2 separate regions of the Homo sapiens genome follow, and region 1 is linked to region 2. Evidence: promoter capture Hi-C in 16 types of primary human blood cells and fetal thymus (Javierre and others, 2016). All regions are on one chromosome and are shown on one strand. Each heading gives the region's core, a stretch centred on a gene start or on the middle of the fragment in contact. The rest is flanking DNA. Distances are from core to core; before and after follow the strand shown.

Evidence for each region. The method cuts DNA at HindIII sites, captures the fragments that hold promoters and counts their contacts. A CHiCAGO score of 5 or more calls a contact.
Region 1: a fragment that was not itself captured here is called in contact with the fragment with the promoter of CCT8 in region 2 in 3 of 17 cell types (naive CD4 T cells, M2 macrophages and M0 macrophages); the score reaches 6.3 in naive CD4 T cells.

The regions. Positions count from the first base shown.
Region 1 is chr21:29,834,330-29,840,565 of GRCh38, reverse strand. The region is part of intron 1 of GRIK1 (glutamate ionotropic receptor kainate type subunit 1); the gene reads left to right. Among named protein-coding and RNA genes, the nearest start is that of GRIK1-AS1, 89 kb to the right of the region's middle. The HindIII fragment of the contact is 805 bases long and covers 2,946-3,750 here.
Region 2 is chr21:29,069,236-29,075,197 of GRCh38, reverse strand. It overlaps CCT8 (chaperonin containing TCP1 subunit 8), which reads left to right and starts at 1,550. Exons shown (of 15, transcript NM_006585.4): 1 at 1,550-1,667; 2 at 4,861-4,951; 3 at 5,696-5,775. The coding sequence starts at 1,608. RefSeq lists enhancers at 1,325-1,494, 655-1,566, 1,945-2,114, 1,567-2,478. The HindIII fragment of the contact is 10,437 bases long and covers 1-3,226 here.

The DNA.
Region 1 (6,236 bases), core at 2,099-4,598, 760 kb before region 2:
GATTTCTCAAGCCTGCAATAGGCACCCTCTTAGAAAGGGTATTTCAGGGATTCCAGTGGGATAAATAGCTACAGTTGTGCCTCATCCTCCCCTTGATTTCAAAGATTCTCAAAAATTATGTGTAAAAAAAAATATGAAAGACAAAGCTATTTATAGACTATGAAACTTAAATTGTCCCTTCTGATGCATTGCTAGAAATATGAAATGGCAAATGGTGATTTTTAGAATAATCTGCAAGACAAAAGTTTTAATATTCCTGAACACTTTGAGACTTCAGATCCCCTTTCCTAAAATCATGTTTGTATTGCTGGTGAGGCATATATTCCAATCTTATTTTTTTCTTATTTTTCAAAACTCTGAGTTAAAATAAAAAATAAGACTGGGATGAAAACATTTTCCCCAAATTACAGAATCATCTAATTTCAAGGCTTAAAAAGGACATTGACTCATCAAGTGCAACATTATATTCCTATTTTTCAATTCCCACTCCACACCATCTGGAAGTCCATCCCCAACTTCAAGGAAAAGGAAGTCCATACTTGAGCATCACTGACCATTAAAATAGTTCGTGATAATGTCAGAATCTGTCTTCTTTGAGTTTCCACCAATTTGCCGTCATTCAAGCCCTTGAAACTGTATAGAATAGTCTACCTTCCTTCCACATAAAAACCTTTCACACTACTGAGGTCAACTATCACCTTCTCCACCACCAGCGAGATTAGTGTTCTTGATACCAGATATTCCCAATTTCATCCACTATTCCTTATAAGATATCAGGATGAGTTCTATCTTTGTTGCCTTTCTCATAAATTTACCCTAAATTCTTCTAGAACTGCAAAACCCACAAAGTATTGTCTTACTCCAGATATGGTCTGAACAAATAAGTGGGACTATCACTTTCTGCATATTAGAGTAGGATTTTTGCATTTGTCCCCATAACATCTCAATAGTGATTCCACCTAAATTTACTATCAGCTCAAATCCCTAAGTCATACACATGCTACCAAGTCTCACTTTTTCCCTTTTGTAACTGTCTTATATTTTTTAATCCAAGAATGGGATCTCACAATTATCATTGAAATTCTAGACTATCAATATAGTCTACCAAAAATTTTATATTCTAATTCTTTCATTCCATGTTATCTGTTAGTTTTACAAATATTTTGAGTAACTTTATGGACAAAGCCTTTACTCAAATTACAACTAGAAATTCCCTGGCCAGGCATGGTGGCTCATGCCTGTAATCCCAGCACTTTGGGAAGCCAAGGAGGGTGGATCACTTGAGGTCAGGAGTTTGAGACAAGCCTGGCCAACATAATGAAACCCTGTCTCTACTAGAAATACAAAAATTAGCCAAGCATGGTGGCATGTGCTTGTAGTCCCAGCTACATGGAAGGCTGAGGCAGGAGAATCGCTTGAACCTGGGAGGCGGAGGTTGTGGTGAGCCAAGATCGCACCACTGCACTCTGGCCTGGGCAACAGAGTGAGACTCTGCCTCAAAAAAAAGAAAAGAAAAGAAAAGAAATCCCTATAGTATGATATTTATTCATTAATTTGTACTCTTCAAGTATAGTAGCTTACTTCGTTTAATAATTTGCCTAAATTCCTTTTTTTTCCATCTTGTCCACCAAATAGTGAAAAGGTATGTCAGATTCCTTCATACAATTTAAGCACCACCAAATAAATTTCTGTGATCTGTGAGGTTAGTAACTTGTGACAAAGAAAGTGATGAATCTTGTTTTCATGTTTTCTTTTTTCAGGCAAACCATGCTAGATCTTTGTAACTGTTATTTTATTACAAGAGATTACAGGACATTCTTTAATAATTTTAGAGTCTCTGCTGTAATCAGTATCAAACTCAGAGCTTTGGCTTGTAAAATCCACGTTATTTTGCTGAAAACTAGATAGTGATTTGCCCTTCACCAGTCTTCTATTATTTGCTGTGATTTCTCTTAGACCTACTAGTTCTGCTGTTTCTGAAGTCTTGCAGGCAGGCAATATCTTTGAGTTCAACCCAGTTAAACTAGGAGCCAGAACTCCCGGAGAGCAGCAGAAGAGTGAGTAGGGGCAGGAGTCACTTACAACTTCTTAATCCATCATGGATTTCAGTTCCCACTTACTAATAACTGTTTCACCTTTTGAGTTTTTTTCAGTACAAACAAGATGGAAGCTAAATGGCCAATGAGGAATCTTTTTTTTTTCTGTGATATCCGTCTTCATTGAAGTTCTTCAGAGAGCTTTAGTACTCTTCATAGTTTAAAATACAAAACTATCTTCTTGGTTGTCCAATTCAGTTTCTGCAGCCCCCAGTTGGTTAGAACTTTGACTTCCAGCACTCCTCCTATGGGCTTCTATGATACTATATTCGCTACTGAATCAAGGGCTGATTCCTCTTATCCTATTATGGACCCAATGAGCTTTTAATGCAGAAATTCTTTGAATGGGTCTTTTGCAAACCTGCTTATTAATTTAAGAAGTTTCCTCTTTTCTCCTTTATTGAAATCATTTAGAAACATATAGATAAAATTTCACTTTTAACTTTTTGAACCATCTTCCTCTTCAGATTCTTAGTGTATAATCAAACCTATTCCCTTTCCAAAATTATGAAATTTGCATTTCTACTTAGAATACTGGAAGGTGGATTTTAGTTTTCCCAGAAATATAAAGTTTCTTGGGGCAAAATATAGAATACTGGGGGCTTCTCCACACTCGGGGCTTTGGAAGCCACACTGTATAAGACTATTGTGTGTTTTTACCCAAGTACCACTAATGTGGAACAGTGGCACTGTTTACTAAACGGTAAGTTTTTTATATTCTAAATCTTATGATCACAGTGGGTCTGCTTTAAGTTTGATATATTTATAAACAAATGTATTTTCTTCTGGTTTATTCTTCATATATTCTAAAATATTTAGATTTAAATATGAACTATATGCTCATAAGCTTGGCTGACTCTAGCAAAAAGTAGTCTTCTATAGGAAAATTGTCTTTGTTTCCCAGACTTCTCTTTGCTGTCATTCCCCCCCATTGGTGGTTGCCTAGTCCTCCTATTCTTCAGTTTCTCAGTGCTCTCATAGTCCTGCCTCCTGTGACTCTAACTCAATATAATCACATATTTATTATATTCACAATGAGTTATAAATATCTAGAAGTTGTTCTTCCCTGGACATAACTATGTTAAGAAGCATCAGATGCTGCTAAAGGCTTTCGGAAGAGAAATGAGGAAGTTCATTGTCAATCACTCATTTATTCTTTTACTCAATAAACACTTGTAGAGCCTCCCCTATGTGCCAAAACGGTGTCAGGAAACACAAGATCATTGCAGATGAAGTTCCTGAACTCTAACAACTCTCCTTGTAGGAGAGAGAGATACCAGAAAATATAAGGGGTGTGAAAACCAGAAAAGATTAATTTTGAATTACAATTTCAGCTTAGCTATCCAAAAAACGATTACATCCCATTCAGAAAAGCATGTGAAAAGGGTATGAACTAGCATTTCAGATTTTGAAGACTGCATCAGGGTGTACTTACGGTGAAGGGTCCCAAGTGCCAAAGCAGCTAGAGAAAAAGCAGGTGCTGGATCATGAGGGACTTTATGCCTAAGGTGAGAGTTGGACTTTATCTCTAAAACTGTGGGCAATATCTAAAGCATAATTTTCTTGGCTCCTAGAGACAAAATGTAGGTGGCTTCTTCTTTCCTCTCAGCCCCCATTTTAATAGAAGAGAATTTTGAAAGAAGATAACTAAGCTTTATACTTCTACACTATCAATGAAATTACATTTTTTAGCATTAAGAAAGGTATGGACACGTTAGAATTTAATGTAATATTTGTCTGATTTCTCATGATGTGAGATTTGTGGGCTTATGATAGTGTCTGTGTAAATATATATATATATGCAACATTACACATGTATATGTGTGCATTATCTATTAAATATATACTTATCAAAATATCCAACTTTCATGTTTATAAACTTATAATTCACAGGCAACAATGGCAAATCAGAGTGGATCTTATTTTTAATCTGCCTAGCAGAAAATTTATTTAGTATATGTTTTACTATAATTATCCTAATAATTGTTCCACTGTACATAGGGACTTTTCCCAGAGTTGAGTAAATTGGTTAGGAAATAAAAGGAGCTATACTGCATAAAAATAACCTAAAATTAACATCTGCAAATAAGCCAGGGGACGTGTGTCTGTCTCTGTGTATCATAAGCATTTCTAGAGACTGATCATCTGACTTAGTACTTTTACATAGCTATCCTTTCCCTACTTGGCCCCAAGAGAATGTTATTTCTCATGATTGGTTTATCCATTGTATTAAAACAGAAAGAAATAATACAATTTTCTCTTAAATTTCCCAGTGCCTCAGTTCAATTTCCTGCTGGTAGATTTCTGCTTTCTTTTTATATCTAAGAAATTATACTCTTTACTTTACAAAGGACAGTGCACTGACCGACTGAAATGAATGTGCTTGTAATAGAACAGTGGGCAGCAGCCTGCCAGGCTTGGTGAAGAGTGCAGCCTGCTATTGCTTTCCAAGGAACAGTTTCTCCCACAGCTTTCTTTCACCAAAGTGTGTCTATTGCCATCAAGTCAGAAAGGAATGAATATTTGCGTGGTTGGGGAAAACAAACCTGCTGTTGAGGAACAGGTTACTTTAAGCCGGAATTATCTAATCAGACTGTACCAAAATCACCAAGCAATTGCTAGCTCTGGACTTAGCTTTTATAAAGCAACGACAAAATGAGTTAATAAGTTAAAAAAAATAGAGGAAATAATCATTATTGCCCATTGGGTTATTCTGAAATATGGCTTCTTCAGCAAACAACAGGGCAAAAGTATATTATCTGTGTTTAGGGCCCAAGACCAGATGGATTTATAGGATATAAAATATAGCCTTAAAGATCCCGAGAGGTTTGAAGCCCCAGAATTCCTCCCTGCACTGACTGTTTTAATACCCTAAAATGTCCTCAACAAATGATCAGTTGTTTGGAGATGTGCATTATGGGATTGTGGGATTCAGAGGCTCTAGCAAACTCTTGAAACAACTGTGTTTTCCACAAGGTTTTGATGAGTGGATTTGATGAACAGTCTCAGAGCAATATAAAAGCATGTGAGAAACAAAGAAAAAAGACCAGAGACAAAGAAACAAGACCAGTTATGTTAGGACTTTAACCCAGAGCTAGTGCTCCTGGGGCCACGCCTCTCAAAAAACTTCTGCCATTTCCCACTTTTCCGACCTGCCCCAGGCAGAGGATCTAGCCACCAGCAGAAGAACTAAGTGAGCAGATTAATGCCAGGGGATGCTGCTGGGTGCTGCAGGCTAGTAGGGTAGGTAAGTCCCCATGAAATTTCAGAAAGATTTGTAGGAGGCTTACAAAAGTACACAAAATACAAACACTGTTGAGTTGCAAGTGAATCAAATCAAGAAAGAAAAATAATATTGAGTTAAGTGCGGTCCAGAAGAAGCCTAAACAGAGGACATTAGCATGTGTGGATTGCTACCTGGAGCATTAGTGATCAGAAAGAGCATAGTAGAAACGCTATGCCCACAGGAAGACTGAGTGTGAAAATCAGAAGAGCCAAACCTGTGCTAAAGACCAGAGAAAGAGAAAGTAAGACAAGAGTGAGAATAATAATGATACAAAAAACCCTCCAGTACTAATAATTAATATTAATTAATATTGAATAAATAAAATAATATTCAATTGTAATATTGAATAAATAAAATAATATTCAATATTAATATTGAATAAATAAAATCATTAATATTGGATGAATATTAATTAATATTAATAATATTAATACTAATGCCAGAAATGTGCTAAGCAATTAATATATGTTAACTCATTAAACACTTTCAAGAACTATGATGTATAATTTTTATTGCTATGTTATATATTAGAAAGCTGAGAGGTGAAGAAGTTTCGGGGTAGAGTATGCTGCCAGAGCCATGATTTGAATCCAGCTCTGCCAGAATTCAAGGCCCATGCTCTTTATCACTCTTAGACAGCCAAGTAGGAAGTGAAGGCCAAGTAAACAGAAGAATGACCAAGAAGTGAAGAACAAAGTGGGGGGTGAAGGAAGCAGATCCATCAGTTTCTCTAGTATATTTTCACTGATGGTTAGTAGTGGTAATGGGTTATAGTGCAGAAGAATAATCTCTTCTATTATCTCGATAACCATCATTTTACATATATAATATATATGTAATACATAAATATATAT
Region 2 (5,962 bases), core at 301-2,800:
TTATTTAAAATATCTCTATTTTCCAAGAATGAAAAGGGTGGCTGTATTAGTCCGTTCTCGAATCGCTATAAAGAACTACCTGAGACTGGGTAATTTATAAAGAAAAGAGGTTTAATTGGCTCACAGTTCCACAGGCGGTACAGGAAGCATGGCTGGGGAAGCCTCAGGAAGCTGACAATCAAGGTGGAAGGTGAAGGGGAAGCAGACACATCCTACAAGGCTGGAGGAGGAGGAAGAGACAGAGTGGGGAGGTGCCACACACTTTTAAACAACCAGGTCTTATGAGAAGTCACTCACTATCACAAGAACAGCTGGGGATTATAATTCCACATCATATTTGGGCAGGCAATTCAAACATATCAGTGGCATTTACATTTTTGCAAAAATCCAAACCATATCAGTGGCATTTACATTTTTGCAATTTTTTTTTTTTTTTGAGACAGGGCCTCACTCTTGCCCAGGCTGGAGTGCAGTGGCATGATCTCAGCTCACTGCTGCCTCAACCTCCCAGGCTCAAGCAGATCCTCCAACCTTAGCCTCCCAAGCAGCTGAGACTACAGGTGCATGCCACCAAGCCAAAGGGATTTATATTTATCTATAAATTCATATATAAATCAGATATATTTATATAAAATGTGTATATTATATATATAAATCAGATAAATAAATATGTATTTATATCTGATCTTAAAAGAGTAAAAGGGATTTATATTCCCAGGAAGAAGTAGAAAAGAGGAATATAGATAGTGGTTAAGAACCGGCATTTTGCAATAAGTCTGATCTAGATAGGAATTCTAGCTTTAATATTTACTAGCTCTGTGATCTTGGGAAAATTATTTACAGTTTGTGAACTTCAGTTTCCCTTCTACAAAATAGAGACAGTACCATTTAATTTTTAATTTTTAATGGTATCGTCTCCATTTTATGGAAGGAAAACTAAATGGTATTTTAACCGACAATTCATTAATTTTTAAGACTGACCATTAACAGAGATACTGCATGTAAAGCAGATCACACAGAATATGGCACACTTGAGCACTTGATGTGTACTACATTACTCTTAGTGACGACTTTAATTATCGTGCGCATTCCCAGCGCTTCCTATGGTGCCCAACACAGAGCGGACGCCTAGAGACAATTTTGGGGGATGGGGCAGATGCTCTGCCTCGGGAAAAAAAAAGCACACCTGCCCTGACGTTGGTGGCTGGGTCTGGAAGATACGTGGAAATTAAGCTAAGGATGTGTGGCTTCCAGATCAAAAACCGCAAAAATCTAACGCCGTGACTACTGACTACGGTCAGAGAGCACAGACTGGAGCAACCTCTCACGGCCTGGGCTGTCTGCGCGTGCGTGAGCCAGAAACCCGAGGGGCTCCCTGGGCCCGCCCTATCGATCGACCCGATCGGGGATCGTCAGCTTGGTTCTGGCCACAGAGGTTGCTCTTCTCGCGATGCTTCAGACCTGGCGGCAGGGAAAGGGTGGGCTAATTGGAGAGCCAGGAAGAGCGTGAGGCGGCCCCACGCTGCTTTCCCAGAAGGCTGTGCGTGCTCCTCGCTTCCTCCGCGGTCTTCCGAGCGGTCGCGTGAACTGCTTCCTGCAGGCTGGCCATGGCGCTTCACGTTCCCAAGGCTCCGGGCTTTGCCCAGATGCTCAAGGAGGGAGCGAAAGTAAGGGCTGAAGGAAAGGAATGAGGTGGGAGCGTCAGCATAGGGCTGCGGCGGCCGCGGCGAAGTAGGAGGGCCTACTAACGGGCTGAGCGTGCTGCCCTGGCTCAGCGGCCGGGGGAAGAGAAGATTCCAGAAAGGGAGGTGATTTTGGAAGGGCTCGGCCACCGGAGCCTGCGGGCACTTCTCTTCTTCCGCGACCGGGAGAAGGCCGAGGGATCGGCGGCACGATCGACATTGTACACCTTGAAGGTGGACGGATGTGAAGCCGCGCGTGCGTTTTGCCTCCATCCGTAAATGGGGCTAAGGCCCGTCACCCTTAAAGGAGGTTGTGAGGGTGAAATTGAATAACGTAGATGAAATTGTCTTGAGAACTGCGACGTCGATTATCACATAGCTCGCGAGTTGTAGGATGGGGAAGAACGAGAACTAGCCGATCCAGAGAAGAGAGTGGGAAAAAGGGCCGGGTCTTGGTTGCTTGCTTCCCAGTGAGAAACATACGGCTTTCAGCTTAGTTGACAGAAGCCATGCGTTGTAGCCAAATGAGTTCCGGTCCCAACTTATGTTAGCTGGCTTAATCTAAAATGTAACTTTCTTGGGTTTTGTTTCCTTCGTCTTTAAATTATGGAGATTGGACCAAGAGGTGGTGTCTTTGAGTTCTGTGTAATCTGCAGGATAAGTGATAGAGGGGTGCAGATAACACTTTTGTTTAATGGCCTTTTCTTGAACGTTAGTTCGGTAGCATAGTTTTAAAAAATATCTTACTGCACTATTGATAAATTTGTCTCTTGTGCTATTCAAATTGCATTCCTCTGTGTGTCCTCCAGATTTTGTTAATTCAAGAAATAGATCAGTGTGGTTGAATTTAAGGTTTTATGCGAGGTACGGGGAGCATTAACAGTTTAATAGAACTAGGTTCATGTTTGTAGGATGCACTTTTCAAATAATGTCGGTATAGTAAGTAAATGTCAGGGTTCAAGGTAAATGTTGGTGGAATAATCTTTTGAAAATGATATGGGCTGATTCCCTTGAAAAAATCAGGCTGAGATAATAGCTTCCAATTTGGGTTTTTTTCACTAATACAGTTTTGGAAAACTCGTGTATCACAAAACATTATTTGTCATTCCAGTGCTAGTAGTTTTTTACAGAACACTGAGCTATTTCTTTCAATAAATAGGTACTGAAGGAACTGCAGTGAAAGACAAAAGTCCCATTTGTCGTAGAGTTTATGTCCTTCTAAGGCAGAAATAATGATTAAATAAAAGGAGAATTCCAAATAATGATGAAAGAAACTGCACTATAGTAGAGGATGACAGGAGGTAAAAATGTCTGTAAAAGAAGGATCAGGAATAGACAGAACACTTAGACGTTTAGGGAAGAACTCTTAGCTCAGTGCTTAGTGAGAGAAGCCCCTGAGCCTGGGCTGTTTCCCCCGACCTCTTACTTAGGGGGAAATGCCAGGCTCAGGGACTAACTAGTACAAAGACCCTGAGGAAGGAATGATTTTGACCTGTTTTTTTTTTAAAACAACAACAACAACAACAGGTTGTAGGGCTGAAGCTTACCAAAGAAAGGAAGAATGGTAAGTTCAGAGGAGGAGCCATACAAGGGCCGGGATACGTAGGGCCTTGTTTCCTTGAAAAGGGATTTGCATTTTATCCTAAGCTGGTTGGGAAACCATTGAAGGGTCTTAAGTATGGGAATGAGGGGATCTGATCAAATGGTAGTTTCTCACAGAATGGGGAGTGAGGGGAAGAAGCAAGAGTGTAAGCCAGGAGTTCAGACTTAAGTGTTATTGCTGGAATAACAGTTCTTATTGCTGAAGATGCTTTTAAAGCAGTGGCTATTGGCAGGGGTTGGTGGCTCACACCTGTAATCCCAACACTGGGGAGGCCGAGGTCAGTGGATCACTTGAGGCCAGGAGTTCCTGGCCAACATGGTGAAACTCCGCCTCTCAAAAAAATACAAAAAAAACCAACCTGGTGTGGCGCGCACCTCTAATCCCAGCTACTCAGGAGGCTGAGCCTCCAGAATTGCTTGAACCCGGGAGGCCCAGGTTGCAGTGAGCTGAGATCGTGCCACGATCTCAGCTCACTGCACTCCAGCCTGAGCGATAGAGGAGACTCTCTCTCTCTCAAAAAAGAGTAATGGCTATTAACCTTGGTTTTGGATCACAAAATCATGGCTTGTATTGTAAAGCAGTACTATGTAAATAGAACTTTTTGCAGTGCTGGACATACGCTGTATCAGCGCTGTCCAGTGTGATATTCACTACCCACATGTAGCTACTGGGCATTTGAACTGTGGCTCCTGCAATTGAGGAACTGAATTTTTTAATTTTAATTACTTGAAAGTTTATTTTGATTGCTTTCACTAGCCCCATGTATGTAGCTAGTGGCTACTGTATTGGGCAGCGCTTCTCTAAAGAAATGTTCTCATGCACAGTAGATTAGTGAAATATATCTGAGGACCCAAGTAAACCTCAACTCTAAAAAAGTCCAGTGTAGAATTTGTGAGAATTTTTAGTACCGTGAGCAGTTCGCTTTTCAATACATATACATTGGGATAATGTTGCAATTCAAAAAAAGTATTCAGTCTCTAAACACTTCAGTGGCACATACTTAAAGAACTTCTGGCTTTACAAAAGCCCAGATTCTAACACAATAAGAATATTCCACATTTCAACAGTTAGTTAGAAAATACTGATAAATTCTGGAAAGGTATTCTACTTGAAGTACCTCATACCCTTTCTCTAATTAGTCTTAGCATGGTTCCCTGTACTTTTCACTACTTTTAATAAAAAAAATTTTAAGTCTTTTGATGTGTAAGTAGGTACCTGCGGTCCCCCAAAATGTTATACTTTATTCATTCAACTAGAGAGGAAATGTATGCATCATTTATGAATATCAAATGCTGTGTTTTACATTAAAAAATCTTGTTTGATTGTCTCAACAATCCTATGAGTTAGGTACTATTATAATTACTTCATTTTATAATGAAGAAATGTTAAGAAAATTGCCCAAATTTAAAAAGAGCCAGAAAGCTAAGATTTGCAACCAGCCCTCTTGTGCCAAATACCTAAGCTATGCTCCCTCTTTATTAGAGGCAAGATATAAGCAAAGATATCTTGTATTTGAAATTTTTGTTTCACTGTCCTGTCTAATTAGCGGGGTTTTTTGTTTGTTTTTTTTAACAGCACTTTTCAGGATTAGAAGAGGCTGTGTATAGAAACATACAAGCTTGCAAGGAGCTTGCCCAAACCACTCGTACAGCATATGGACCAAATGGTAATTTCTAAATTAATATTTGTAAAGATACAGTAGTAGAATATTGTGTACTACGTCTTCTTTCAGACTTGTTCTGAGGATGTTATGGTATGACTTCGGAAGTTAATTTGATAGCTCAATGATAGTTCATTTCCAATTTTTAGTTATTTCTAATTTTCAATCAACTCACATCTCTTTAGAAAAATGGGGGTCAATATATTACTTTTTATCCTGTTGAGAGGATAGAAAAATTATAACACTTTGACTAGTAAGATAGTACCTAATGTTCATTCTGACAAACACTAAATATAAAAGTGACATAGTTTAAGGAAGAAAATTCTCTCCTTCCTCTTGCCTTCTACCACCAATTAAATTTAAATGATACAGTTTCATGGAATAAACATACAACTAAATATACTAAGTAGATTATTTTGGCCTTTTTACATGTTAATTTCTGTTGAGCACTTGCTGCATGACAGTCATGTTGCAAACAGAAGATAGAAATTGGCAAAAATGTGAGATTTGGCATCTTACGTAGTAAATATTGTAGGACATTAGAAAGGGAAGAAAGAATATGGGTCTGCAGTCAGAGAATGCCCATGGGGCTATAAGATAAACTTGAAGAATAGATAGTATGTGTTTTCTTGCAAAGCTCTTTTTTTAATATACAAATTTATAATTTCTTAACTAGATTTTCCTGGGTATTTGGGGAAGGATTTGATTAATAATGGCTTTCTTTTTCTTTTTTTAACTGTTACTTTTGAGGAATGAACAAAATGGTTATCAACCACTTGGAGAAGTTGTTTGTGACAAACGATGCAGCAACTATTTTAAGAGAACTAGAAGTAAGTTGTTTCTTTAAAAAGTCAAGAAATATTTTGGTGACATCAAAATTAAGTAGATTTTAACTAGAAGAAATCTCTTATTTCAGATTGGATAAGGGACTATTTTTCCAGCTTGAAAATTTATTGTACAGATTGTTCTAATTATAAAGAGTCCTCTTTAGATTGAATGTTTTAGCCACTGAAATCT